Regions from separate parts of the Homo sapiens genome. Here region 2 is linked to region 1. Evidence: promoter capture Hi-C in human tissues and cell types (Jung and others, 2019). All regions are on one chromosome and are shown on one strand. Each heading gives the region's core, a stretch centred on a gene start or on the middle of the fragment in contact. The rest is flanking DNA. Distances are from core to core; before and after follow the strand shown.

Region 1 (2,965 bases), core at 235-2,734:
GATTCTTTCATGTCTACGAACAGAACTGGGAAAACTGAATGCTTTCCCACACTGCTTACATTCATAGGGTTTTTTTGCAGAGTGGATTCTTTCATGTCTACGAACAGAACTGGGAAACCTGAATGCTTTCCCACATTCCTTACATTCATAAGGCTTTTCCCCAGTGTGAGTTCTTCCATGTATTGCAAGGCTACTGGAATAACTAAAGGCTCTGAGGTGCCTATTAAGGGATGAAAGACCTATGCCGATTTCTCCACACACACTGCTTTCATATGATTGTACTCCAGGAGTTTTCTTCTTCAGTGTGTCATCTGGAACCTGTGTCAAAACTTCTCCATGCTGATGACTTTCTTTACTTTCAGAGAGTCTCTCCCCTATAAGTCTTCTGTGAACAATGAAAGCACATTATAATGGGTTTATCACTAATTTTAATTCCTTTGCAAGTATTACACTTGCATTTTTAACAGTGCCCAGCAAAGTGTAGGCTTTCTGTCCTGTCTGAACATGAATGGAACACATGCTATACAAGATGGCCTAGCCAGGCCAGGCATGGTGGCTCACGCCTGTAATCCCAGCACTTTGGGAGGCCGAGGAGGGTGGATCATGAGGTCAGGAGATCGAGACCATCCTGGCTAACATGGTGAAACCCTGTCTCTACTAAAAAATACAAAAAATTAGCCGGGCGTGGTGGCAGGTGCCTGCAGTCCCAGCTACGGGGAGGCTGAGGCAGGAGAATAGTGTGAACCCGGGAGGCAGAGCTTACAGTGAGCCGAGATCACACCGCTGCACTCCAGCCTGGGTGACAGAGCGAGACACTGTCTCAAACAAACAAACAAAGATGGCCCAGCCATATCTCTTATCAAAAAAGATAATATTGATACAGGGATTTTAAATGCTTTATTTATTTATTTATTTATTTATGAGACCAAGTCTCACTCTGTCGTCAGGCTGGAGTGCAGTGGCACCATCCTGGCTCACTGCAACCTCCGCCTCCCAGGTTCAAGCGATTCTCCTGCCTCAGCCTCCCAAGGACTACAGGCACGCACCACCACGCCCAGCTAATTTCTCGTATTTTTAGTAGAGACAGGCTTTCACCATGTTGGCCAGGATGGTCTCAATCTCTTGACCTCATGATCCACCCACCTCAGCCTTCCAAAGTGCTGGGATTACAGGTGTGAGCCACCATGTCCAGCTTTTACATGCTATTTTAAAGTAGACTATTTTATAAATACGGTCTTTGTCTTTTTGTCTGTTTAGTTTTGAGTCAGGGTCTCACCCTGTGGCCCAGGCTGCCCTCCAGTGATGCCATCATGACTCAGTGCAACCTCAAACTCCCAGGTTCAAGCGATCTTCCATCCTGACCTCCAAAAGGGCTGGATTATACACATAAGCCATGTCACACTTTATATGTTTCTAGGGAAGCTTTTCTAAGAATAAATACATTGGAACTAGGTTTGTTTCTTATGCTTGCTTCTTTTTAACCTTTTCTTCCATTCTAAGATTGTATACAGAGACATTGTTTTCTCTTTTAAGTGCCAGTTACCTTAGGTTTCTCCTAGGATTTTGGTGCTCATCTTCAATGTACTGGTTGTTCCATTTTTTTCCTAAAATGCGGACCCAGAAAAATAGTCCTGAATTAGTATAAAATTATTTTAAAAAGTTACTTGATTCTATGTCCATGGCTCATTGCACCTGTGTCTCATTTATTCAAAGTATTCCCTGACCATATTCCAAATCACTCAACAGCACTGATGAGCTAGAAACACCTGTTCTTTAATTCACTGAGGGAAGTAATACTGTCATTCTTACCTATGGAGGTCAGGTTCCTCAAGGTTTCCTGCATCACTTCCCTGTAGAGATTTTTCTGGGAAGGATCCAGCAAAGCCCACTCCTCCTGGGTGAAGTTCACAGCCACATCCTCAAAGGCCACCGAATCCTGAAATATCCCACATGTGGACAGGAGGATGAGTGAGGCTGACAGCACTGGGTTTCTATACCCTATTCCTAGGAAGTTCTCAGGATGCTGTGGTGTGTGGACTCCAAACATTTATTCCATGACTTGGTCATCAGATCCCTTACTCTGTCTACACTCACTTTCTTCCATAAAACAATTTTGATGCTAGAGTTGAACTCTGGATGGGGTAAAGCAACAGCAGAATAGGAAAAATGTGTGTTTCTGGTGAGTCCAGGGAGAAAGTCGTGCTGCCTGGACTGCCCTTAATGTCCGAAGTGTGGATCTGCAGCACCTATCTTAACAAACTCCTTTGAATTTCTGAGCAAAACAAATTTAACGTGAGCAGCCCTAAGCCTGCATATTCTTGAAAACGCCTGTTCACAAAGTTGAACCTTTGTGATGACTAGAAAGTGGGTTTTCTTCTGATTCCAGTAGCAGAAGCCAAAAACAAAAAAACTGGGTTTGGCAAGGGGCTTTATTAATCTAACTGATAAGAGAGTCTGGCCAGGCACGGTGGCTCATGCCTATAAATCTCAGCACTTTGGGAGGTGAAGGCGGGCGGATCGCCTGAGGTCAGGAGTTTGAGACCAACCTGGCCAACATGGCAAAACCCCGTCTCTACTAAAAATAATAAAATTAGCCAGGCATAGTGATGGGCTCCTGTAATTCCAGCTACTTGGGAGACTGAAGCAGGAGAATCACTTGAACCCATGAGGCAGAGGTTGCAGTGAGCCAAAAACGTGCCACCACACTCCAGCCTGGGTGACAGAGCCAGACTCCATCGGTTAAAAAAAAAAAAAAATTCTAATTGATAAGAGAGTCATAACTAACTAAAACAAAAACTCACAAAAAGAAACCTTTCTGGGAAACTGTATGTAGATAGAAAAACCTAAACTGGGCTGGACACAGTGGCTCATGCCTATAATTCCAGCACTTTGGGAGGCCAAGGCGGGCAGATCACCTGATGTCAGCAGTTCAAGACCAGCATGATCAATATGATGAAACCCTGTC
Region 2 (2,965 bases), core at 226-2,725, 120 kb after region 1:
CCTGACCTCAAGTGATCCGCCCGCCTCGGCCTCTCAAAGTGTTGGGGATTACAGGCATGAACCACTGTGCCCGGCCTTGATTTTTCTATGTATAGAGTTGCTGCAGTCAGGCTGTAATTTGTATATATGAAGAAAATATGTAAAGATCATATTTAGAGACTCATTTAGGTAGCGTTCCAGAGAAATGGTTTATGAGCTAGAGAGGTTGGAATTTCAAGGGGCCTAAATTGACCACAGGTGAGAGTTTTCTGCTGGTGTAAATTATTAAGGTATTGAAGGAGGGAGCGTTCCCACATTGTGATGCTGTGACAGGAGGGCATGTTGAGCTCCCAGAGTTAAATCCTTAGGTTTCCTGCCTCATCATCAGGGTCTAATGTACTCTGTGGCTCCACTTCAGCAGTCACTGACTCTTAAGCTTGGGAATATGTTCTACCTTCTGAATTCATCTTTTCCTTTTTAAATGTTCTGAAGTGCCCTGCTTATCTGAGCTAGTTCAAATTTTCGCTTTACTTCCCTTTTGATTTCTTTACAGATTACGGAAATAGAACTTGTTTTTCCATGTATTTAATAATTTTATTCACTTGTTGGCAGTTTTTTATTTTCTTGGGTGAAAATGAGTAGATTGATTTGGGAGGCGAAAGTGGGAGGTTCACTTGAGGCTAGGAGTTCAAGACCAGCCTGGACAACAAACGAAATCCCGTCTCTACAAAAAATTAAAGAATTTGCCGGGCTTGGTGGCATGTACCTGTAGTCTCTACTACTCAGGGGACTGAAGCGGAAGGTTCGCTTGAACCCAGGAGATGGAGGCTGCAGTGAGCTATGATCATGCCATTGCACTCTAACCTGGGTGGCAGAGCTAGACCCTGTCTCAAATAAATAAATAAAGTAATAAATAAGTAAATAAAGTAATAAATAAGTAAATAAAGTAAAAAATAGAGAGAGATAAAGAGGTATGGTATGAGAAAGCCTTGGGCACGCTTCCCATATCCTCATCCCAAATTTCCGATCCCTGGGAATATCACGCCCTTTCTTCTGTTCCAGTCCTGCCTGGAACTCCCTGCGCACACCTGTGACTCCTCATGCAAGAGGTAGATGAAGAAATGACCCACTGAGTACAGGAAGTATCTCCTTTGGTAAACCCGGATTAAGTTCTGCTAAAATGCAAGTATCTCCCATCTCCCCATCCCCCGCAGACCAAGTACAGTGAAGGGGACGAGGGGAAGAAGTCCACCCTGCGTTTGAGGGCTGGGGCCAAGACCCCTCATTCCCGCTTCACTCATCTATGCTTCACATCTCCTGTCATTCACATCTGTCAAGATGCAGGGGGCAGAGCCCGAAGCTGTACCCAATCAGGGGCACCGGGGAGGAGCTCTGCGATCGGTCCAATCAGGCGCGCCGTCGGGGACGCAGCTGCAGACGTTCAACCTTCTCGCGGGATTTTCATTTCTCGCGTCTGCCGTACTTGGTTTCGCTTCGCTAGTCCCAGAGGCCCAGAGTGGCTCGCCTGGAGTCTCTGTGGCGCGGTTTCCTGTACCTGCCTTGGGATCCGGAGGGAGGAAGCTGGGACACCCGGGAGTCAGGAAATGGTGAGTGTGTCGGGCCCTGCGTCCCGAGACAGGGAGGAGGGGCTGGTTGGACGACCGGAACTGGCTGTGGCGCGGCCCGGGCCTTCCCGTGGGCGACTCTGGGTCTGCGTACCGAGTCCCTCTGGCGCAGCTCAGCCCTTGGTACCCTCGGCCTCAGGGTGGGGCTGGGCCGGCAGCCGGGACCCCGGGCGTCCTCGTCCCGCCCTGTGCCGCGATTGCGGCCCCGGCCCCGAAGACCCAAGTCTCTTCAGATTGTGCGGGGCCCACGCGAGGGTCATGGGGTGGGGGAAATCCTGACTTGTGCGTGGAAGGAGCTGTGGTGTATGAGGTTCCCAGTTCCTTTTCTCTCCACAGAGGACACCCGTTTTTCCCTGAGTTTTCTAAGTGTATGGGATGCAGGGTCCCAAATCCTCACTCTGTCCCCCAGCCTGCTGTTTCCAGGGCTTGCAGTAAATCCCCAAATTTCCTGTTCTCTTTTCGCTTTTCCAAACGCCAACCTCTCCCCTTCCATTCACGACATTAGCAACCGTTTCTCCTATATTCTACATTTCAGATATTGTGCTTTCATTGTTTATTTTTCAACAAAGCAATGGATTACTCTTTCATCAAGGTTTGTTTTCTGTTCATAGCCTTGACACTCCGCTGTAAGAAACCTTTGTGCTTGTCCTTTTGTCTCCTCTATGCACAGATACCTCATCAGAATGTCTTTGAGTTGAGGTTCCCCTTTGGAATCTTTACAGGGTGATATGCCTTCAGCGCCCCCTCCTATTTATTTTTTCCTGGTTCTGGGTTTCAAAACTGTCTGGGGCTGACTCAAGCTGCCCACAGCTGCCAAGTCTCTTGGAGGATCTAGTGAATATTGGGTCTTGGGTGAGTCTTCCTAGAGGACAGTTGAAATAGAAGGCTGGGAGAATGCCCTGGGACTAGGATAAATCTAGCATACCCTGCTTCTAAATAGCCAACCTCTGGGGGCACTCAGCTTTTCCTCCCCCAACCCCAGTTTCCATCCTTTGGAGACACACTGGTGGTCAGCCAATCAGATGCTGGTATTGAGGATTGAGAAAAGAAAATTTTTTGTGTGTTTTGAAAGAGTCTCGCTCTGTCGCCTAGGCTGGAGTGCAGTGACGTGATCTCGGCTCACTGCAACCTCCATCTTCTGGGTTCAAGCGATTCTCCTGCCTCAGCCTCCCCTGTAGTTGGGACCACAGTTTTGCGCCACCACTCCCAGATAACTTTTTTTTTTTTTTTTTTTTTTTGAGACGGAGTCTCTCTGTCGCCCAAGCTGGAGTGCAGTGGCGTGATGTCGGCTCACTGCAACCTCTGCCTCCCGGATTCAAGCGATTCTCCTGCCTCAGCCTCCCCAGTACCTGGGACTACAG

What was found. Contacts are between HindIII fragments. The study calls those that stand out against the background at their distance.
Region 2: a contact is called between the fragment with the promoter of ZNF136 here and a fragment that was not itself captured in region 1, in 2 of the 25 tissues and cell types used here (bladder and heart right ventricle).

What each region holds. Positions count from the first base shown.
Region 1 is chr19:12,044,825-12,047,789 of GRCh38, forward strand. ZNF878 (zinc finger protein 878) reads right to left here. Exons shown (of 4, transcript NM_001080404.3): 2 at 1,810-1,936; 3 at 1,544-1,604; 4 at 1-385. It overlaps ZNF433-AS1 (ZNF433 and ZNF878 antisense RNA 1), which reads left to right. Exons shown (of 3, transcript NR_134929.1): 3 at 1,258-1,451. Among named protein-coding and RNA genes, the nearest start is that of ZNF878, 6.7 kb to the right of the region's middle. The HindIII fragment of the contact is 5,656 bases long and covers 1-2,965 here.
Region 2 is chr19:12,161,621-12,164,585 of GRCh38, forward strand. ZNF136 (zinc finger protein 136) reads left to right here and starts at 1,476. Exons shown (of 4, transcript NM_003437.5): 1 at 1,476-1,586. The coding sequence starts at 1,584. RefSeq lists enhancers at 1,317-1,406, 1,417-1,576. The HindIII fragment of the contact is 18,447 bases long and covers 1-2,965 here.